6 separate regions of the Homo sapiens genome follow, and regions 1, 2, 3, 4 and 6 are each linked to region 5. The links are contacts of gene promoters, found by promoter capture Hi-C in blood cells and fetal thymus (Javierre and others, 2016). All regions are on one chromosome and are shown on one strand. The core of a region is centred on a gene start or on the middle of the fragment in contact, and the rest is flanking DNA. Distances in the headings are between cores, read along the strand shown.

What was found. Contacts are between HindIII fragments. The CHiCAGO score rates a contact against its expected background, and 5 or more counts as called.
Region 1: a contact is called between the fragment with the promoter of CHRM3 here and the fragment with the promoter of CHRM3-AS1 in region 5, in 14 of 17 cell types (activated CD4 T cells, megakaryocytes, naive CD4 T cells and 11 more). The highest score is 21.3, in activated CD4 T cells.
Region 2: a fragment that was not itself captured here is called in contact with the fragment with the promoter of CHRM3-AS1 in region 5 in 1 of 17 cell types (megakaryocytes); the score reaches 7.3 in megakaryocytes.
Region 3: a contact is called between a fragment that was not itself captured here and the fragment with the promoter of CHRM3-AS1 in region 5, in 9 of 17 cell types (M0 macrophages, M1 macrophages, total CD4 T cells and 6 more). The highest score is 8.6, in M0 macrophages.
Region 4: a fragment that was not itself captured here is called in contact with the fragment with the promoter of CHRM3-AS1 in region 5 in 6 of 17 cell types (M2 macrophages, activated CD4 T cells, M1 macrophages and 3 more); the score reaches 8.3 in M2 macrophages.
Region 6: a contact is called between a fragment that was not itself captured here and the fragment with the promoter of CHRM3-AS1 in region 5, in 4 of 17 cell types (activated CD4 T cells, fetal thymus, naive CD4 T cells and 1 more). The highest score is 6.8, in activated CD4 T cells.

What each region holds. Positions count from the first base shown.
Region 1 is chr1:239,385,284-239,388,821 of GRCh38, reverse strand. CHRM3 (cholinergic receptor muscarinic 3) reads right to left here and starts at 2,254. Exons shown (of 7, transcript NM_001375978.1): 1 at 1,595-2,254. RefSeq lists enhancers at 531-1,031, 1,032-1,532. The HindIII fragment of the contact is 9,736 bases long and covers 1-3,538 here.
Region 2 is chr1:238,951,142-238,954,749 of GRCh38, reverse strand. No RefSeq gene overlaps it. Among named protein-coding and RNA genes, the nearest start is that of CHRM3, 430 kb to the left of the region's middle. The HindIII fragment of the contact is 950 bases long and covers 1,202-2,151 here.
Region 3 is chr1:239,366,052-239,369,903 of GRCh38, reverse strand. No RefSeq gene overlaps it. Among named protein-coding and RNA genes, the nearest start is that of CHRM3, 19 kb to the left of the region's middle. The HindIII fragment of the contact is 2,922 bases long and covers 806-3,727 here.
Region 4 is chr1:239,348,280-239,352,167 of GRCh38, reverse strand. No RefSeq gene overlaps it. Among named protein-coding and RNA genes, the nearest start is that of CHRM3, 36 kb to the left of the region's middle. The HindIII fragment of the contact is 1,469 bases long and covers 563-2,031 here.
Region 5 is chr1:239,897,815-239,901,719 of GRCh38, reverse strand. It overlaps CHRM3-AS1 (CHRM3 antisense RNA 1), which reads left to right and starts at 1,848. Exons shown (of 2, transcript NR_046582.1): 1 at 1,848-1,956; 2 at 3,328-3,701. The region is part of intron 6 of CHRM3 (cholinergic receptor muscarinic 3); the gene reads right to left. The HindIII fragment of the contact is 7,774 bases long and covers 1-3,532 here.
Region 6 is chr1:239,321,216-239,325,107 of GRCh38, reverse strand. No RefSeq gene overlaps it. Among named protein-coding and RNA genes, the nearest start is that of CHRM3, 63 kb to the left of the region's middle. The HindIII fragment of the contact is 2,408 bases long and covers 439-2,846 here.

The sequences.
Region 1 (3,538 bases), core at 1,005-3,504, 510 kb after region 5:
GAAGCTATGATGTAAACCACATTTCTGTGGCATGTTGGAATGCACACTGAAGAAGCAGGCATGTTCCTTGCACATGTATACTTCGGGATATCAGCTCTTATAACAAGAGGGTGCACTCAACACCTCGTCTATCCCACAATATTTGGAACAGAAATACCTTAGTTTTTTATTAACGTGCTACCACTACAATACGCTTATATGCAGGTATCTGCTCTAGGTTTAGTTTTCCCCTTTCTGAACTATATGTTCATAGTCTCTCTTAAGTAAATACATGGGCATTGTTTTAAACACAGGAAATAATGATGAATGGTTCATGCGATATAACGATCTCACAATATGAAATTATCTGGACTATATAATCACTGCACCCAGTTAAAAATTATTTTTCAAATAGTAACCTACAAAGGTCAAAATGGGGGGAGGGGACAGGTTATCTGTCTTGGAACTCAGAGGGCAAGAGAGAAAGGAAAAGTCTGTGCAAAGCATATGGTGAAATAACCAGTGTTCTTAACCACACATCGCTTTGATAAATACATTTTTGTCCTAAAGAGGGCCGCCCTTTCACATTGCAAACACGGACACTGGCGGGGATCGAGGGGACATATCCTTGCAGCCTTTGGACAGGTTCCAGTAACACTTGCAGACAAATGAAGGTTTGCATTCTTGAAACCTATCCATATGGATGCAGTTCCCAAATCCCTGCTGCCTCTACCACTTCCAAATGCGTGCAAGGAGAGTCGGACACACGCACAAGCATGCAGAACAGGATCTCAATTCCAGCACGCACACCGCGAAGTAGACAAGTGAATTCTGCTGCTGGAGTCAACTGTCCGCCCGCCCCCGCCGTTTAAAAACACGCAAAAATTAACCTCGCTATTAGGAGGCTATGCTGAGGAAGTGTTCCAAAGAGGAGAACCGGTGCAGTCCAGCGGCCGCTGCCTCGCGAGTGCAGACTCTCCCCGGGTCAGTAAAGATGCGCACTAGGCTAGGTACCTTCGCCCAAGTGTTACTCGAAGTGCCAAATTTGCCTTCTCGCCCCCTGAAATGCAATCCGAACTTGCGGCCCCACTGCGAGGTTGGCGGGTGCCAGCTTTAGCCTTCTTAGAAATGACAGGAAACCAAATGGGGAGATGGGAGACAAACGCTCAACACACGAGTGCGCTCACAAACACACCCGGAGCCCAGTAGCTCCTCATGCTCGGGCACTTTGGAGCCTCAGATCCGGCAGTGGCGAAGAGAGAATCGAAGCGAGGGAGAGCGGGGTGGGACGTCCCCGACTCTCTCCCGGCCACCGCTCGCATGATTCCCGTCCCTTTCGGGGCACTTGAGTGCCAGCGGGCGTTCCCCACCCTCAGTCCCAGAACTCCAACTCCGCACCAGATCGCGCTGTCGGAATTCAAGTGCCCCCATCTTCCCCAAATCAACAGCCTCTCTCGTCCCTACCCAGCCCCTTCTTTGGACTCCAAACACAAGACCTCTCCTACCCGCGCCGAAAACTTTTTCCTCCTTTCGCAACGAGATAAGGCAAGAAACCAGGTCAGCCGCTACCGCCACCCGCTCTGCCCAGCGCCTGGGTGGCGGGCGCCGTCCCTACCTGGCAGCTGCGCTCCAGGTGGCTGTCCCACGCCGGTCTCCGCGCCTGCCCGGTGCGCGGGTGGCGTCCGCTCCACCTTCCCTTCGTCTCCTCCGGCTCCGCGTTCAGGGAGCGACTGTCCTTAAGATCGTGCCCCCCTGCCCGGAGCCGCCCTTCAGTTCATCGCCCGTCTTCCCAGAAGCGCTGCTGCGGCCCCGGCGGACTGATGAGGAGCCTGGAGATCCGCGATGGCACCGATGGCCCCGCGGTGTGCGCTCCGGGGTCTGAGAGCGCTCCGCCCGCGGGCAGCTGCGGCCGCGCGTCACATGCCGCCTCCGGGCAGCGGCCGCGGCACCTGCCCAAGCGGCAGCGCTCCCGGCTCGGCAGTGCCGCCCCCGCGCCCTGTGCTCCCCTGCACGCTCCGGCCCTTTCTGTTCACGCCCTTTTCCCTCTGTCTCCCGCCTCACTTTTTCTCTTCTTTCCGTCTCCTTCTTTATCGTGTATTCCCTTTCTCCAAAAGCAGAGAGAAGGCGCTCCAAGGGGGAGGAGAGGTCTTTTCCTCCCCACGAACTCTTCCTCTGCCTGGTGGTGGCGGTCGTGGCTACTGCTGGCCGCTCCTCCTCTCCTTCCTCCTCGCGTTCCTCCTGCTCCTCCTCCTCCCCGGACTGAGAGAGCTGGTGTAATGCACAGGCTGCGTGCTTGAGACCAAAACCTGCCCGGCTTCTGAGCATGCCCAGTTGCCCTGCCGGCGCCTAGCTCCATTCCCGCGTGCCCGCTGGGCTCCGCGTTCTCCGCCTGGCAGGGGGCGAGGAGATCCCAGGGTACTCCTGGGGTGGGTTGGCTGAAAGCGGAACACCAAGCAGGAGAGAGGGGGGCCTCACCCACCCAGCATGGCCTCACCTGTTCCCAAATTGTGCCTCCCGCGGCGCTTCAAAGATAGATTTTGCCGGTCTGTTAGTTTTGTTGTGTTCGCTTTTAAATTGGTTTCCCTGGACTGCTTAGAAGGACTGGAAGGAATTCGATTCCTTGGGCACAACTTATCGATGAGTGAACTTCAGCTCAGTTACAATATACGACTCCATGGCAAACCTTTCTCTAAGGAACAGTCTGATGCATCTACTTTTTGACATTTAGTGAGTCTGTTTCTGCAGAGCAGTGTAATAGAGGACGACTTGACTTTTCCCTCCCTGGACAGTTACACCTTGGGAGAAAATAAGACAAGCATCCATGAAGAAGACACTGACGTGCACGCGCGCGCGCGCGCGCGTACACACACACACACACACACACACACACACACACACACACACACTTTTTTAAATCAGAAAATAAAATGAAAGATATAACATTGCTAGCCAGTCTTTTAAAGCTCAAGAGGAATGAAAATCTAAGAAAGAAAGAAAGAAAGAAAGAAAGAAAGAAAGAAAGAAAGAGAGAGAGACAGAAAAGGTTATTATGTACTACTGCCAGCTAACTATGTAAGGAAAAAGTGGAGAGATACCAAATTTGAAAAGATACCAATGAGGCTGTCCCACGGCACTCTCGAGGTTTTGTTTAAAAAGCACATAAGGAAAGATAACAGAGGAATCTCACAAGAAAGGACAAGCATAACAATGATAACTGAAAAAGAAGAAAAGAAAGAAAAAGGAAGGAAGGAGGAAGATAAAAAGAAGAAAAAAGCAAGAAATTGAAGCATAGTATGAAATGAAATATTTAACAATATTAAAGGCAGCAAATGATTTTAATTCTATTTGGAACAAGAAGATAAATAGGAAAAGATAGAGCTCTTTGAAAAATTAAGTAATTCTAAGAGATTAGAGAAACACCAGTATATGAATTCCTTTCTGAACCTATATTCTTCTCTAGGTAGAACAATCTTTAGGAGAGAAGAGACTAAACTTTGCGTAGAAAAGATTGAGATCATGCTGGGAAAATAGCTAGTGAGAAAGCATGTGGCTACTTAAA
Region 2 (3,608 bases), core at 427-2,926, 950 kb after region 5:
TATCAAATTCTCACATTTTGTCATTGAACATGCTACTCTATGAATCAGTTTATTATCGTATCATATAACCAGACACATAAGAGACTTATTCAAAAATCCAGATACGAACCAGAATTTTTCACAACGCTAAATTTGGTCTGATAACTGATGCTAGTTGTCTGAGGAATTAGCCCCTGTATGAAAGTCTACTCATGAAATTATTAGAAGGAACTCCATGAGCATAGCATAAATCAAATAGACTTTAGTACTCTGACTGGGGTATTTATAAGGTGAAGTGATAAATACTTCTTTTCTACATTTAGAAATATTATTTATGATCATATTCTTTAGGTGATTATGAACAAACAAAGGACGCTCCTTTTTCATTGCTCCATGATGATCATTCTCCAAATAACATGTTCTAAGGGTGACATAACTTTAAAATTTTCAAAGCATCTTCATATATACATTTATTAGTTTTAATTATACTAGTCATAGACAGTTATACTGGCTTTGTTTATATTAGCTTTGTTATAGCTTTGTTTTTGTTTTGTTTTATTTTGAGATGGAGTCTTGCTCTGTTGCCAGGCTGGAGTGCAGTGGCTCGATCTCGGCTCACTGCAACCTCCGCCTCCTGGGTTCAAGTGATTCTCCTGCCTTAGCCTCCCCAGCTGGAACTACAGGTGCACGCCACCACACACTGCTAATTTTTATATTTTTAATAGAGACAGGGTTTCACCATGTTGGCCAGGATGGTCTCAATCTCTTGACCTCATGATCTGCCACCGCAGCCTCCCAAAGTGCTGGGATTACAAGTGTGACCTAAAAGGTGAAGGAGAAGAGAAACAAAACTGACACTTACTGAACATTTATGATGTGTCAAGCAGTGTAATACAGAACCTCTACATGCTGTCTGAGTTTATCCACACAACACCCTTGAGAGATGAAGATTTATATCTCTGTTAATAGACGAAGAAACAGAGACTGTGGAGCAAATGTACAGGCAAGTAATAAATTAACAAAGAGCAAATGTTGGAATCCAAGTATCTGGCTTCAGAAATCTATTTTGCAAACGAGAACTGCCTTGTGAAAGTTCCTAAAGAGAATCTAACTTGAGTCCAGCATATTTCATTCCAAAGCAGCGTCCTTCACTGAGCACCTACTGGTCAAACTTGATATTAACCTACTAGTCATTAAAATTAGTTTTATAATATAACAAGCTTTAATCATTCTTAAACCTGTGATTAATTTTTACTTATTTGAATGTTAAAAAAGTAGCCATAAACATAAAATTTTATCGGGAACAAGACTGAAGCCAAACTTTTATATTGGTGATTTTTTTTTTTTTTTTTTTTGAGATGGCATCTCGCTCTGTCACCGTGGCTGGAGTGCAATGGCGTGATCTCGGCTCACTGCAACCTCCACCTCCCGGGTTCAGGCGATTCTCCTGCCTCAGCCTCCCGAGTAGCTGGGACTACAGGCGCCTGCCACCACGCCCAGCTAATTTTTATACTTTTAATAGAGACGGGGTTTCACCATGTTGGCCAGGATGGTCTCGATCTCTTGACCTTGTGATCCGCCCTCCTCGGCCTCCCAAAGTGCTGGGATTACAGGCGTGAGCCACCGCGCCCAGCCTATATTGTTGATTTTTAAGATGTTTAACATCTATTTTTTTCTATAGTTTGCAGATTTTCATAGACTGCATTCACAGAATCATTTTCTGACACAATCAACTCATTCTTTTATTTAACTTCTAACAATTGACTCTAGTTTCCTATTTTGAAACATGTCTGTCTTAATTATTGGCACATAGTATTGCTCTTTCTCCAGACATGCTGCTTTTTCTCATGTCGGGAAGCATTACAGCTTTCCCCCTAGAGTCTACAACATGAAATATTTGCTGAGAGTGATGTCTCTAATTTGATAGTCCAAGATTCCCCCGGGATGTAACTGGGGACTCATACGAAGGTGATTTTAAAACATTTTTAATGCCTAGAATGAATAAGATAAATACCTTTATAGCAAGATAGTACAAAATAGTCTTATAAAAAGTAGAGATACATTTAAAATTTTTGTGGGAATTAACAGGCAATTAACAGGGCTATTTTGTTCCCACTGTGCTCTCTACAATGAAAAGAATCATGGACCCAAATGAAACTTACAGAAGAAGCTTGTGATGTGGCTGAGCAATTTCCATTCTCTTTTAAAGAACAAAGCAATAGAGCTAGCTTTTCAACTACCAAATATATCCTTTTAAATAGAATTGAAAACACTTGATCTCTCACCATGACATTGAAATGCTCTTAATTTTTAAAACAACACATTAGGCTAATTAAGTCATGTTTAGAAATGTAGTTCCCTGTGATTAGACTTGTTCTCAAGTCAGTAACAGCTGACAGCACCATGCTGTTTATAATAAAGAGTAGAAAACAATGTTGGAACTGTGGATTTAACTAATACTTTTGAAATAATTTCTAATCAGTTGATGGATTGCATAAATCTAAAGTACTGCCTTCTTTCTCTTTGGTTTTATGGTTCATGGAATTTCAGAGAGTTAAAGAAGGTCAGACACATTCAGCTGTTTAAACAGGTGTAAAACCTCACCAGTTTATCTAAAAATTACCCCTATTTAGGCAAAACTCGTATCATTTCCTAGAATTTTGTTTGTGTGTGCGTCACCTCACCAAAGTGGTGCTCTTACAAATTAAATGGATTCAAGTATATTTTTCTTGTGAGTATTGATACTTTAGGCGATTTTGCCTGAAGAGGGCAGTGCTTCACCAATGGACGGAATCTCTAAGAGTAAAATTATGGAGACCGCAGTGACTACACTACAGAGAAAGGGCAATTACAGTAGATTACTTAATCAGCATACTTGAACAGATAGACGTTTTGCTTGCTATCAATATCTGTTTGATTATAGTAGCATATTGTTAATATGTCATCTTTACCTATCTTTGCCCAGCGGATAATGTCAGGAAATAAAGGACTGCAAATGTATTCAAAAACATACCTATGCTACATGAACATGTTTCTTAAATATAATATTCTTGCATGGACATAATAAAGTCACTATTTTTTTGCTAGCTGAAATCAGAGTTGTTTTCAGGGAAAGAATGGTCTTTTTAAAGGAAAATCCCTGCTGAGTCACTTAAAGGTGTAAGGTAACATGTGACTGTTTGGGTGTGAAGGAGGCTAGCAGAGGATGGTCAAACATTCTACCTAAGAAGAAAACAAAAAGGAATTGAGGGACATTGAGGGTACCTAGAGGCAGGAGAGAGTCTGGGGTCTGGTTGCTTAAAATTATTTAAATTAAATCTTACTAAGAGAGGAGAGTTCTAGATTTTAAATTATCACTGTAGTCTTGTGAGGTCTCTCTCCTACCTGCTATGAATTTCCACAGAAAATCTATTACGTTCAATTGGCTTGTGGGCTTGTCATTAAGGGTGAGTACAGACATCAATAGAAAAATCTTTTTCACATAGCAAATACATGAATAAATACGCGAATGAATTGATTATTATATTCAGATGCATTCTCTGTGACCACTGGTCATAATTACACAAGTTATGTTCTAATATTGAAAGACCATTCAGGTCCCAGAAATACCTAGGCCAGTTCATGTCTTC
Region 3 (3,852 bases), core at 1,017-3,516, 530 kb after region 5:
ATTTCTGAAATACAAAACTCATAGAGAGTGGTTAAATGAGGAGGAAAAACTTTTTATGTTTTTATCATATTACAAAACAATGGTATCTGCCATACAGGAAAATGTGGGATAGAAACAAAGTTACAAAAATGTGCTCTGAGGAGGGCAGTGGTGGGTTTGTCAAATAAAAGGGAGGAAATGCAAGTTAAAGGAGTCTGTGGGGTAAAAGGAAGTAAAGGAATACAGGGAACAAAATCAATGTTTCTGTTGTGTGTGGTGTTCGCTTTGAACCCTACCCTACATATCATCAAAGATAAGATGCCAGCAGCAAAAAATAATTTCTAGGTTTGTCCAGCTGGTACAGGCTATAATGGGAAACATTAGGAATAATGAAGTCTGAAGATACAAATGCCATAATATCCCCTTTTTTCCAGTTTCACTTGATAGACAATTTTGATACTTATGTTTCACTGGCAAGGATAATGAAATTGACACTGAATTTCACATTTAGACATGGTATAGGAATTCAGATGCACAGAAATTATGCTTCATAATTAACAGGGGAAGTCTACCTTCCAGGTTGAATACATGATATAGGAAGAGTTCAGAGGTGTGGAGGGAAAAGAGAGATTTCTCTTTTACCCTGCAAATAGATGAAAAGCACAAGAATATAGCATAAAATCGAAATCATGCTATTCTTCCTTAAACTTTTTGATGAAATTAGCAAATAATTTCATATAAAATTTTAAAATTAATGTAAGTTGAATTTTATTATTTTTGAGTAGAAAGCAATTTCATGAGCGCTTCTAAGATGAAGGAGAAAGCTTTGGAGAAATCTCATGCTTGTCCTCAGGCAGTTTGAGCTACATAGTCAGCTACCCGTCCACCACAATACCTTAAATACAATTTCATACTCCTTTATCTTAGGAGGAATTTGGTGGATAAGTTTGAGCTTTATTGCCATAAAAGAACAGGTTAAAGTGTCCTAAATGGACTCTGACAGGCAGTCTGGAAGTTATCAAATCGTTGATAAATCTAGTTAGTACTATTTGAAAAGTAAATTATGAGAAAACTGAGAAAATGAACCATTTTATTGCAAGAATGCAGCGTGAGTAACTCTCTCTGTGTAACAGCCTCTAATAAAATGTGTTTAATCACCTGCCGCAAACAGGAATTTCCTTTCAGCATTTCTACAGTCAGAACAAAGGAACTATTTCAGTTTTCCCTTTTAATGCCTTCTCCCATTGCCTGTCCTCAGTACAGCTGAATTGGCAACCTGTTATGTGAAAGGTGGAGCACAAAGTTCCACCTACCACTGGGTCTCCCCTCCCTTTCGTCTAGACACTTCCTCACCCTTGAGGAACAATACAAGTCAGGTGACTGGTGTAGAGAAGGTCGCTTACATTCATGTGTGTTACCTAAGAGGGTTGTATAAGAAGGTGGGAAGAACGCAGGGCTAGCATGGAATTTGTGGGCTTGTCTTTCTTAGTCAATTTCCTGTTAACATGGTTTACTTCGTAATATTCTTTAGAAGCAGATAGAACTTGTTATTCACATATATTAAATGTGTGTATATTTAAAGCTGTGGGCTATTGAGGCATTAGGAACTATCCAAGCAAGGGATAGATTTGGATTGAGTACTGGTCAGAAATTGCTCCAAGCATGGGGAAGCAAGGCAGCAGGTACCCATAAGACTCCCAACTGTGTCCTGTTGACCACCGGGAAACATGTCCAACTGACAGCTTTGTCCAAAGCAGGCCTGCCTCTTTATAATTTCATGGAATAATGAAATCAAAGCCTTGGGATAATCTTTTACATCAACACCTTCATTTTAATAAAGCAAGAAGCTGAGGTTTTAGAGAGAGAAAATGATTTCTATATAGTCTCACTTCTAGGTAGTACAAAACCTGGGACTAAAATATGGATTTTCTGGTTCTCAGTTTTGTGTCCTCCCTTTATGTATCATGGATAAAGTTTTCATCCAAAATACACAGAATCAGTGCCAGCAAGTTAAAAAACACCAGCCATAACTGAAAACTATTTTTCATTTTTTCTAATAAGGAAATGGAAAAGCTGGATGCCTGTAAATTATACTGGGTTGATAGAAACAGATAAATAGTAGAGGCACATCATTTGTTAAGTATCCATCCTATTTTGATTTTCCTAAAGCCAGTGCCCAAGAAGAAGAAATGGGTATAGATCGTTTATTCAGGGGGACATTTTAGGAAGCAGAAGTGAGAGAGGTAGGAAAATGAGAAAAAGAAGGAAGAGGAGTCAGCTATGTGCTCCATGATGCAATTGCTTCTGTGAGGAAGTAGAGGCTCAGTCCCCATGGAGCCTCTGAGGAACTGTACAGAACAGTCCTTAGCATTGTCTCCTTAGAGGACAGGATTGCTGGGGCTTTCCTCAAGACTCCTGACTCTCACTTGTGAAGGATTTATCCTGGGGTATTAATTCCCCTGCCTTTGTGTGTTGAGCTAGCTTGCAGCTCCATGGTCTCCTGTGGCAAGGGAGAAGGCCTTGAACAGCAGACAGGCATTCCTGGTATGGGCACTGGCTATGCACGTGGAATTGCCCACGAGTCGTGTGCTGAAAACAGCTGGGCTTAGGGGAATTTGCACAATGAATAGCAACCATTGGCTATAGCCTAATTCTCAACTATGACAGTTTTATGAGTTCTTTATCAAGTAATAATTCTTATGAAATTGGAATTGAATCTCTTCTAGGGCTCTCTTGAAGAAGATTTGTGGGTTCTTTGTAAACTAGACCATTAGGTATATATATTATTCATTGAGAAGATGTAAAACTCCAGGAAGAAAATGCAACCGATATCAATAAAAATAATGCCTTTGAATAATGTCTTTGAATTCATGTAAACTTTTGACTTTTCTCAAAATTCTTTCTCATATGTTATCTTTTTTTGTTCTCCCATATCTCAAATCTCTCACTATTCTATGAACATGCTTGTCGCCTTTTTTGCTTCCATTCTCTTGTGATATATAATTCCCTCTTTAAATGTCTTTTTTTAAAGTAGACAAATCTTTGAAGATATAGGTGAAATATCAGGTCTTTCATGAAGTCTTCCCTGTTTCACTAGGAAAGCAGAATTAGCGGTTTTCAGCTCTGTTCTAAATTTTTAGGCACCTTTTTTTCCAGGAGACAATACCATTTCTAGATCTTAAATACGCAAATTCAAACAAGATGATATTCATTCTCTACTACTTTGATTAATATTCAGAATAAAATTTAATACCCAGCATGGATATGGCAATATAAAACATGTTGAATACAGTATTGTTATTAATTTGGAATATCTGAAGGGCAATATTTTCTATAATCTTGCTTGTTAAAAAGAATGTCATTGTTAAAATTGAATTTAATGGATTTCTGGTATAAGAAGACAATTTAGCAAAGTTTCTGCCCCCACCAGGAAGCAGAAACACTGATTTCATCTGTTATTAAATTAGGAGTTATCTATAATTCTGAATCTAAATATACAAAGGTGCAAAGATGTATGAATGATAAATTACTTAATAAGTTAGAGAAACTTCAAATACACACACACATGCACACACACACACATACACACATATGTACCTATAAAGGGAGTTATCAGTGAGAAGAAAGCTGTTCTTTAGAATTCATGTAAGGACACTTTAATCTGTTCTCTTATAGAAATTCTTTTGACTTGTGAAGGTGAGGAACCAGGACTATAGGAAGAAGTGTGTTTGGAGATGGGACGTAAGCTTGGGGTAATTGGGAAGTTTACATTAAGAGCAACTAGATGTTCAGGACCACCTCCCCCTCCCCAGAAGTCAGGCATGTAAACTGGATCAAGAATTTGAGGAATCCTTAGATAGAGAAACTGAACCA
Region 4 (3,888 bases), core at 48-2,547, 550 kb after region 5:
GGGCTCCTGGTTCCTTCTCTTACTCTTTCAATTATCTCTCTGTCTTCTCTCTCGCTTTTTTTTTTATTCCTTTTTAAATGTAGTAAAAAGTAGGACGTATTAACTTTAGTGAGGTTAGGTCACAAAGCAGGAATAAAAAGAACATCAGTACACAGGCAGTTCTCTGGGTACTGCCAACTCCACTAAAAACTGTACATGATTGGCCGGGCGGGGTGGCTCACGCCTGTAATCCCAGCATTTTGGAAGGCAAGGCGGGTGGATCACGAGGTCAGGAGATGGAGACCATCCTGGCTAACACGGTGAAACCCTGTCTCTACTAAAAAATACAAAAAATTAGCCAGGCCTGGTGGTGGGCACCTGTAATCCCAGCTACTCTGGAGGCTGAGGCAGGAGAATCGCTTGAACCCAGGAGGCGGAGGTTGCAGTGAGCCGAGATGGCGCCACTGCACTCCAGCCTGGGTGACAGAGTGAGACTCCGTCTCAAAAAAAAAAAAAAAAAAAAAAAAAAAAAAGTACATGATGGATCTAATAAGGAAACCACTCTTCTTTTGAGTCCTAAGCTTGTAATCAGAATGGTGGTCGTCATTGTTTCCATGCTATTTATAAAACTTAAGACTTTCCTAATGTTTCTTTGGAAGAAATAACAAAGGTTTTAATGTAGCATGTGTATGAACTATTGACACTCTATACTGTAACCAGGAAAAGTGAAAATTTTGGTTTCTGATTTCCCACATCTATTTTGCATCATTTGTTGCTAATGTGTAAATTTTCTGCATAGACAAAGGTTATTTATTTAGCCACAGCGAGTCACTATATAGCACATTTAATTAATCATGCGATTTTCTCTATGGCTATTTATGTACAACAGTAAAAACCAGTGCTTTGTATATTGAATAATGCTTTAGTGTGGACATATACTTGACCAACAGGATATTTAATTAAATGGGAGGTATTTTTCATTCCACTGTGTGATGCCACATTTCTGACTTTAGTAAAATCAGATGACAAAACTAAATAGTTTTCTTGCAGGTAGACCTGCCAATATGTTTTTTCAGATATGCAGTGAAGCTAGACTCCTATTTAATAGTGGAGTCTTCCTGTTGGTTATTCCACTTAGCATTTATTCCTGACATTATTGTATGCGGAGTTTTAGATATGGAAGGGTCACTTTTTGGCTGACCCACATTAAAATAGTCCACAGTCATCATAAAAGTACTAAACAAAGCATGGTAGACTCATACCTTTAGAATTTCCTTTAGATTTTAGATACTGGCAAAACCTTTGAATGATTCCTCTAATAAGCACAAGACAATAAGTATTTATTAAATTATATTAGGTAAGAACATGGTTAGATTCATTTAAAAAGTCATTACTCAATTACTTTTCCTCTAATATCTGCCTGCATGCCAGTTAACAGAAGATGTTTTAGCTAGTATTGCATAAGAGATAGTAAATCCAATAATTAAAAAAATCATTGAAAAGAAATTTTATTTAATTCCCTCTAGATTCTTGTGACATATTTGGAAGATAGTGTTTAGGGCTAGAGGTTTCAATGACGTTTCAATGACTTGCACATGAAATCATTTAGGGTGAGCTAGCTTGAAGTATTTCTCATAAGCAAGAAATAATGAAAATACTACTTAGCATAAAATATAATTTATTTCACCAAATCAGGATTATATGAGTGGTGCTGTGTTTGTTTCTCAGCCCTCTGGAATTCTACCTTCAAATGGTTTTGGTCCTCTTTTTATCTCCAACAGAAACAATCTTTTAAAAAGTAAACAATATAATCCACAAGGCTTTGACCATGGAGGTCTGCGACTATTGATGAATATGTAACTCCTATTTTCACTAAAATTCTTCCTTGTTAGGACTGGTTTCTTTTTTTTTTTTTTTTTTTTTTTTCGTTATTGTAGACTGGCCCCGAATAACTTCATTTCCCCAGAATCATTTTTTGTAGCTATTTTTACTATTTGTTTTCTTTGTCCAATTTCAATAGAAATAGTTGGAAGTGATACTAGAAATGAAGCTTACATTGGCCAATTATGTAATTTTTTATCTCTTTAGATTTGAAATATCTTAGGCCAAGAATACAAACTCGAAAAGATATGGAAACTTTAGTAGAGTTCTTTTTTCTTTTTTTTTTTTTTTTTTTGAGATGGGGTCTCACTCTGTCACTCAGGCTGGAATGCAGTGGTGTCACCTCAACTCACTACAACCTCTGCCTCTGGAATTCAAGTGATCCTGCCACCTCAGCCTCCTAAGTAGCTGGGACCACAGGCATGCGCCACTACACCCGATTAATTCTGTGTATTTTTGGTAGAGATGGGATTTCGCCATGTTGGCCCAGCTGGTCTCGAACTCCTGAGCGCAGGCAATCTGCCTGCTTCTACCTCCTGTACTGCTGGGATTACAGTCATGAGCCACTGCACCTGGCTAGTGGAACTCTAACTTGAGTCTCTGAATTTGTGATGGCCAATATGATATTTTATCAGAAGTGAAGCCTAAATTGAAAACATGATTTCAAGCATTCTACTAAAAATACAAACTTGTTTTATCTAGTTTATTTAAAGTGTATTTTTCCAAGTTATAGAGGAGGTGGTCTATTTATTATGTTAGAAAGTCCACAGAAACAAAACCTGAAGAATGGAGTGTTTACAAAAGTTCTTATAACCATACATTTTGGAATTCTTTTTAAATTAATTTTCTGGTTTTCAGATACTTATGAGAAGCCAAAATGTTTTATGATCCTCACTATGTTACAATACACTCCTGATTACTTCTTCCCCTTCAAAAGTAAATAAAAATAAACACACTCATTTTTAAATGTTCCTTTTAGTCTTAATTTAGAATGCTAGCTTGAAAGTTTTACTGTTGTGAAGGTGAAAAGTAGTTTTCGGGCCTTAGAATGCTGATATTTGGCTGAAGCTACCGATTGCAGCATAAACAGTGACTTTTCTAGAATTTGAACCTGAGTGCCAGGTTTACGTTCTGATTGTATCATGTAGTTGTGTAACATCACTTACCTAATCAGTTTCTTAGCTACTCAATGAGCTGTGACTACCAAACATGTCAATACTACCGTGTATAGATCAGTGCCATAACATGGTAGAGGCTAACTAACACATGATACTGCTATCATTGCTATTTCTGTGTAATGATTTGAGATTAACTTTTGTAAACGATAAACTAGAAATAATAGTTTATCAACAACTTTGGGTTAACATTCTTGTTTCTCGAGGAAGGAACATACAAGTGAAGGACTAGATTGCTGATGTGGCCTGGGTAGGTTTCTACTGGAATGGAAAGAGCAATAATAGTGTTACTTCTCTATTCCATTGAAAAATAGTATTTCCTTGCATGATCACATTAAGGCTGAAGGCTTCAGTAACAGTTACACAAAGTACAGAAAATAATCCAACTTCTGCAAATGAAATCATGCACTACAGAGTATGTGCTGCTTGTTTTGCTTTTCCTTGCTATTTTGGATGGAAAAAAGTATAACTTCAATTATATATTATACTCTTCTCTGTAACAAAGACTAATTTTGTTAATCAGTAGACAAAGTAATGAAAGAAGGCGGACATGAGATTAATTAGAGGGAAAAGAGACTTCTCCTTTAATTCAATTCTCTTATGTAATTAGAGGTATTATGAAAGTTTGTAAGAGAGAAAATCTAAGTCATAGTTCCCACCAAAACACACATCATTTAAACCAGCAATAGTTATGCAGAAATCTAATCATTATTTACCTTACTCTTGGCACTTTCACTCCAAAATCTGCATATATATATTTGATCTATATATGAGGTGACTCTTACAGGTCTTGTTTAGATCACTGCTATGGAACATGTCACCCTTCATGTTTAAGAATGGACAGAATACTTTT
Region 5 (3,905 bases), core at 599-3,098:
AAGGGAATACTATGCAGCAGATAAAAGCAATCAACTAGATATATATTAACTTAGAACCATCTAAAAATACTTTGTTAAGTAAGAAAGGCAAGTTGTGGGATGACAAATACAACACGATAAAATTTAGTTTACAATAAAACACAGCAATAGTATACTAAAGATTGTACATGCCTGTATACTAAAGGTTGTATACAGACATATAGACAGATACCACCTTTAGTATATTAATATAATTAAAATTGTCATAGAAGGATAGAAAGATTTACATGCAAATCATATATTAGCAGTGGTATTTTGGAGGAGGAAGATAAAATTAGGATTGAGGGTGATGGACAAAGAAGACTTCAGCTCAATCTGTAATGTCCCGAATGAGGAAAAAAAAAAAAATCCCAAAGTTTCCGAAGCCAGAAGGAAGTGAAGAAGAGAGTTAAAAGGGGGCAGATATTGGTGATGGTTGCCAAGGAGGGCTTGGAATCTTGCCTTACACTCTGCTGTTGCTTTTAAATGCGGAGAAGGTTGGAGGAAAAAGAGGTCGCATCTGATAATATTGATCAGACTCAAAGAAGATGCGTGCCTCATGCCCTCCTGTCTGGTGCCCAGAGGTGGCAGCTGCTCAGAGGTCACTAGGTCACCATGGCAGAAGCACCGATGACCTGAATGCCTGTGGTAATGAATTCTTCCTTAGTCTTGCCTAAGACGTAAACTCAGCTGGGCGAACACCTTGATTTCAGTGTTGAGACCCTGAACAGGGAACCTTGTTGTAAGCTGCTAAGTTTGTGGTGATTTGCTATGCAGAATGGGGCCACAACAGGCAGCTTCGAGGCAAGTTATACAAAAATGAAATGACTGATCTTGCTCGCCTGAATACGATGGATTAAAAATATTATACACACTTTACATGTAAATGAGCAATGTATTGTCTCACACATAAGAAATCCTAGTTCTACTTGGGTTGTGGATTTTCTCCCCTCATTGCTGTAGGGGCCTTTCTTGCCTTCGTCCCTCCAAGGGAATATTCAGCACCTGCCATACCTCTTCTGAGCACACTGTCTTTTCTCGACAGCCCAGGTGAGGTACATTCCTGGTGCTCCCCAATCTATTCATATCAAGGCTGTACCCAGCTTTATCAAGGAAGACAATGTCCCTATAGGGCCAGGAAACAAGATCCCTCCCACCTTCTTTCAGACATTTTCTATGAACTTCTCCGAGGCCTTGGGGCCACGGCCTCATTAAAAGGACTGTTCTCTGGAGGCTCAGCAACGGAGGTCCTATCGGTACCCAGGATGACAACAGGAGAAAGTGATCAGCCGGTCATAAGGATTTCAAAAAAAAAAAAAAAAAAGAATATCTAAAAGTACTTATTAGAAATGAGAGTCACCAAATGTTTTACTTCAGGTATATCTATTATTTCATAGGTAATATGTAACTTCCTGAGAATCAAGACTGTAGGTCAGACCCAAATGAAGCAGTGATAACCCCGGGCTAAGAGCCCTCAGTTTACGGTGATTTTCTGAGTAGAAGGTATCATTCCTATGTTTAATATTCCTTCCTCATCCTGACTCAACAGCTATTCCATAGCATTAGGATATTTTGAGTCAAGGAAGTTCACAGTCTACACTCATTGAATTGAATGATATTGGTGAGGGGACCTACAGGAAGTCTTTCCTTGTAATGCTCAGGAATAAACAGGTGGTGGGAACAGAGATCCTTGTCAGCCCAGTGACCTTCGCACTTTATAAGTAATCCCAGGCAAGAGTTCTAGGAATGCAGCCTGCATGAGGGCTCAGGGCATGGTCAGATAGGGGCAGACCAGGGGCAGGTGCCTGGCTCCTCTCTGGGGTCAGAGCAGGCTCCCTCCCTGCCAGGTTGTGGGTGCAACATTCAGGGAATGGTTACTGAAGTGTTCCAGGCACCAGAGCTCAGGCAAGAAGTGGAAAACTGCGCAAGATCCTGCACGTGGGTACCATCAGTGCCTTTGTGGGGAAGTTACATCTGTGTGTATGTATATATACTTAGTATATATATACGATATACTTAGTGTACTTATATCGTGTATATATACTATGTACTTAGTATACTTACTTATATACAATGTACATATACTTAGTGTATATATACATTGCATGTTGAACTTACTATATATATACACACACACTACACACACACACTAATTGGTCCGCTAATTGGCTGTTGCATTTTGAACTTGGTATGTGTGTATATATACATGTGTGTGAGTATATATACACACATATATACGTATGTATATACATATCATATACATACATGTGTATAGATATGTGTGTATATATGTATATGTGTGTATATGTATATGTGTTTATATATGTATATATGTATTTATGTATATATACACACACACTAAATTCAATAGATATATATGCGTGTGTGTATATACACACACACACACACACACACACACACACACTGAGTTCAAAATGCAAGAGCCAATTAGTGGGCCAATATGAGAATTAAAAAAGAAAAAAATGTACAGCAAATTGAATAGGACGTATCAGAATGCATACCACATAATGACAATCAATATCACTTCATTAAATTTTTGCTCGACATACACACACGTATAAAATTATGTCTATAGTCATGATGTACGTACAATGTATTTTGTGTTGAATAATGTTGGAAAGCCACTGCAGTGGATATTTTGACATCTTTTATTAATATTTAAAAGAAGAGGGTGAAACAAAAAATGTGAAAAAAGACAAAAAAGTTTGACAGTACTGAATTTAGGAGAAATTGAAGGTTAGTTCTAGGAAATTTGCCTTCTTCCCCCTAGTTATGGCAAAAAATAACTTTTCTGGGGTTATAAGTCTGTGAAATATATAGGTAAATTTAAAAAATTTAAAAATGTGTAAATATCCAGTGTGAAATACATGTGAGATTGCTTACAGAAACGGACAAGGCCAATATACATGTGAGGCTTCTGGTTATAATGAATTCCAAGGAGATAAACTCATTTCATGTCCTCTGAGCCAACCGGGCAGTACCTACTTGGGAAAAATGTTTGAGGGCTCTCGATTTTTAAACCTGCTGAACCAATTAAAAGCGTATAAATTTTTCTAGAAGTCTAAATTAATTCTACGTCTATAATAATAATTATTTTTTTAAGTGATGATATGGGAAAAACCCAAAATATCTTTGCAACATACAGCCGTGCGTTTTTTCTCAGACCAACTATTTAGTGCCTCTTCCCTATTTGTAATCCAGTCTGCGTCATTTTTCAGGGCTTGTTTTGGGTCTCTGACTGCCTTCTTTGCTTAGAGTGTCTCTGTTTTCTGTCATAATTCACTATAGCATTCAACGGCTAAAATGACTTTTAAAACTACCTGGTGAATGGCAATACCACATCAAACCACTAGGTGGCAAAGCAGACTCGGAGAACGACCTCTCTGCCAGCAGGCGCTGAAGCAGCTACCCGTTCCCCATGCTGGTGACCAGGAACTTCAGCTTAGCTCAGTCATGCAGTTCGCGGAGGATATCAAACAGAGTCAACAAAGCTTTGCAATCAAACGTGTCTTTAAAGGGAATCCAACTTGTGAACCTGGCTCTTGATATTCATTTGAAGCTGCAAGGGGGAAAAGATGTTACCTAATATGGAGCAATGGCTCTTATTGTGAACAAAACATCTCTGAACACCAAAACCGGAATAAAATTCTATTTAAAAAGGGGAATTTTTTTTTTAGAAAGTTGATTTATCTTGCTGCCTCCTCCCTCGGTTGCCACTTTTCATGGGTTTTTACTTGATTTGATAAATATGGACCTTGACAACAACAATGCAGGGTGCTTGGAAAAGGATTTGCATCAGGACCTCTTACGTGTAGCAGTAGCTGCTGAAATAACAGTTTTTCCTCAAAAACAAAAACCTAGATTCG
Region 6 (3,892 bases), core at 393-2,892, 580 kb after region 5:
TATATTTTTTCTCTAAGTTAGTTTAAATTGGACTTTCTATCTGTAAAGAATATTTAGCATAGCTCCTTTCCTATTTTAAGACTCACTATCTTCTTCTCATGCAACCATTGGTTTAATCCAATACTAAATCCACTTTACCTTGCTGCCTTCTCAAACTTTACTCTTTCTTTTTTCCTAATTTGTTGGATTATAAGCTTTTATATCTATAGGGAAAATCTGACCTTATTGATCACTGAGAATGTCCTTCTTGGAACATTTTACCTCCCTTCACTTACAAGATAGAAATATCTTACTAAGTTCTCAGTCTGTCTCCCTGACCATCCTCTCCCTATTTTCTGGTTCTTTTACTCCTTCCTTCCTTGGAGTTCATCCACTACTGATGCTACAATTATCATATCTCTTATTTTACTTGTGAACAAAATTCTTAATGTCTAAGCTTGAGTTCATTTTCTTCTAAAGCCTGACTCTGCTGCTGACTTCCACTAATAATTATATGGAACACCTCAAGGATGAAAAGAGGAAAATAAACCAGAAATGTAGAGAGAGATTGGCCAGAGAGAGAAAGAGGATTTGTGTCTTCCAAAATATTTCTATGTCTTGTAGGTCAAGAGAAGTGAGTGCTTCAAGAAGGAAGGGATTCTCAATATTGAACCTTTCAGTCCTTAGGTTCAGAAAATTGGAACTGTTTTTGATTTATTAATGTATCTTCTACTCTCTGTTTCGTTAGTTATACTATCTTAAAAATGTGTTTCTCTCTTCGTCAGCCCATGGAAAGAGTTGGCCAACTGCATTAGCTGAAGGATGGGAAAGCCTGATGAAATAGTGTGAGTTTCAGAAATGCAAGGAGACACATTGCCTAGTGCTAATACAGAATTTCCAAGGGTTCCATCAGAATAGAATATGGAAAAAATTAGAAGGATTCATTTTCCTAGAAAATTGGGATGAGATAATGTGCTAAGAGAAAGAAATTGGGAAAAGACTCCAACATGACTTGAGATATCTGATGAGATTTACCCTTGCATAGCAGTGCCCTGGAGTCTGGTAAGGCACATAAAAACCTTGGCTGGAAAGTAACTACCCAAGATATCATCAAAAGAGTTTGCCAATCTCATAGGGCTACAGAATTGGAAGTAGGTTAGGATCCCGTCAGAGAGACTAGAGTAGCTGGCTGTTTTCTGATCTATTGAAGAAGAAGAAGAGCAAAGATGGACGTATCCCTCACAGCTATTTTAGGGCCAAAAGGAGGAAATGTGACAATGAATGTCTCTAACTATCATAGTACTAATAATAGTCATAGTAATATATTATTGACTTTATTATTTTTTACATTTTGATTTTTCCCATTCTCAACCATCAGATTTATCTTTCCCAAACAGAAATTTGTTAGTGGCTATATATATATATATATATATATATATATATATATATATATATATATATATTTTAACTAATATCTCAGCAGTGATTCCATTATCTTCTGAATAACAAATAGCTTCTTTAGATTGACAGTAAATACCTTCTACAATTAAATCTTGGTTCACCTTTCAGCCTTCTATTAAATCACTTTCCTATGGCTTTGTCAAAATAGGTGGCCTCCCAGTGAGTTATTGTGTCCTGTTGTTTCCCTCGCTTTGCTCATGCTCTTTTTCCAGGATTTCAAATCCTAATGTCACATGCGGAAGTCCTAAACATCTTCCAGCTCAAATATAGCCTGGAGCAGTGCTCTTCACAACCCCAGTTTAGAAGTTATCTTTTCCTTCTCTATACTCAGATTGTACATTATTTGAGGTGTCAGAAAATACAAACATAATCGCTTTTTCATAATAGATTATACATTCATTGAGTTTTGGGACTACCTAACTATACTTTGTGAACTTCAGAGTCCCAGGGTCAGTGTGTCAAATGCAGCAAGTATTCAATAAATATCTGAAGATGAAAAACAAGGACTAAGAAAGGCTATTTTAAAAATATCAACAACAAAAAACAAATGTACCATCTGCTTTAGATTTACGACGTAAAATTCAGCTTCAAGTTTACTTTTGTCAGATTGTCACATGACATTTTTCAATGAAAAAATTAGGAGAAGCAAGAGTAATTTTTATTAATGGTTACAAGAACTTATTAAGTTATCAAAGGGCTTTGGAGAAGCACTGGGCTTTTTATAACATGTGGCATAGGGATGTCCTGTAGAGTAAATAATTGCTATGCTAAGAGAAGTCAATAAATGTGTATAACAGCTGTATCTCAAATTTAAATAATCTTTTTCACAAAGGGAATTATTTTAAGATGTGAAAAAGTTTTTTGCTTGCAGAAATCAGTATCTAAAAAAAGATTATTCTCAAAACACCCTTCCTTTTGTCACTCTTAGAAAAACAAAAAGACAACTTAAAATAAATACAATGTCATCCAACTTCCCCTCCAACATGCATAGCAGTTAAAAAAAAATCTAAGAACAAATGTGTATCTAGCTGGCGCCAAATTGAACCCAATGCAAACCGGAGCGCCTTCATAATAAACACTTTAGAATCATCACACAATAAAATGTTGACACATCCTTCAGTGTAACAAAACTGCTAGGAGCCACTTTCAGTGCCAATTGCAGAGTGTGACTGCACAAGAAAAGTGAGGGAGGGGTGAGAGGCGAGAGGGGGAGAGAGAGAGAGAGAGAAAGAGAGAGAGAGAGAAAGAGAGAAAGAGAGAGAGAAAGACTTTAAGAGGGTCAATAAAAGCTGCCAGTTCAGTGGCATCTAATTTAATGTAATTGCTCTTGTGGTATTGGTAACTGAGCCACAAAATAGTTCACAGAGCCCATTGATTTCTTTCCTGGGATCCATCCTCCTGAAGCTTTTGCATCTCTTGAACAAAAAATTAAAAAAAAGGGAGGACAATTATCAAGACAAACATCTGAACAAATACATGTTATTTATATAGAGCAGGGTGGTTTCTAGAGCTGATCCCTTACCTGAATTGGCATATCAATTATTTGTACCTTTCTGCCTCCTCTTACGTAAACTCAAAGCTGTGCCATGCCTTGCTGATTTACTCTGATAAGGTTCCTCTGCTTAACTTTAACAGCCTTTGGCATGACCTTGGGTAATGCATTCACATAATATTAATATCTGACATCATGTGCATTAACTGGAAATACTAAATTAGAAGACCAAGCCCACAAATACAAATGTATGCATTTTAAAATAAAAGTTAAGGAACATTGCTTATTTAGACTTATCAGTTCAAAAGGAAGAAATAAATCTACATTACGTGACGATATAAGTAATTTGTCATATTTCCAGGTATGCTACAATTTATGATCTATCTACACACTAGAAGCAGACATGATCCTTACAAATCAAAACAAAAAACCCAAATAATGCCAAACCACACTGTTCACCACATATTTCATATTTTCTTTCATAAAAGCAGATCTGTTGCCAGTGTGGTCAGGTAGATTTATTTGACTCATCAAATGTTAGGAAAAAGACTCGGATAAGACCATAAATAATAATTACTACCACCACCAGAACACCCAGTGTAATATTAATTTAGTAATGATAGAGAGAGTCAGAAATTTTACTTGGAAATTTTAACATTATATATCAACATGCTAATTGTATAGACAAGAAAACACAGCTATTGGCAGAGCCTGGACTAATATCCAAATACCAGTTCTCTCTACATCATTATCTTGCTTTGATTTCCATTTTATTTTAATAGAGAAGGCATAGCTCTGGGAATGGAAAGTAGAGTAGTTCATGGGAAGATGCAGTGACGATATACAGCTTGCATTGTGGAGCAAATAAATATATGAGATAAGACGTGAAAGCACAGTACCTCTTATTGTAGGTGTGTAATAAAAGTTTGTTGAATTAATATGATAAATGAATAGATATTA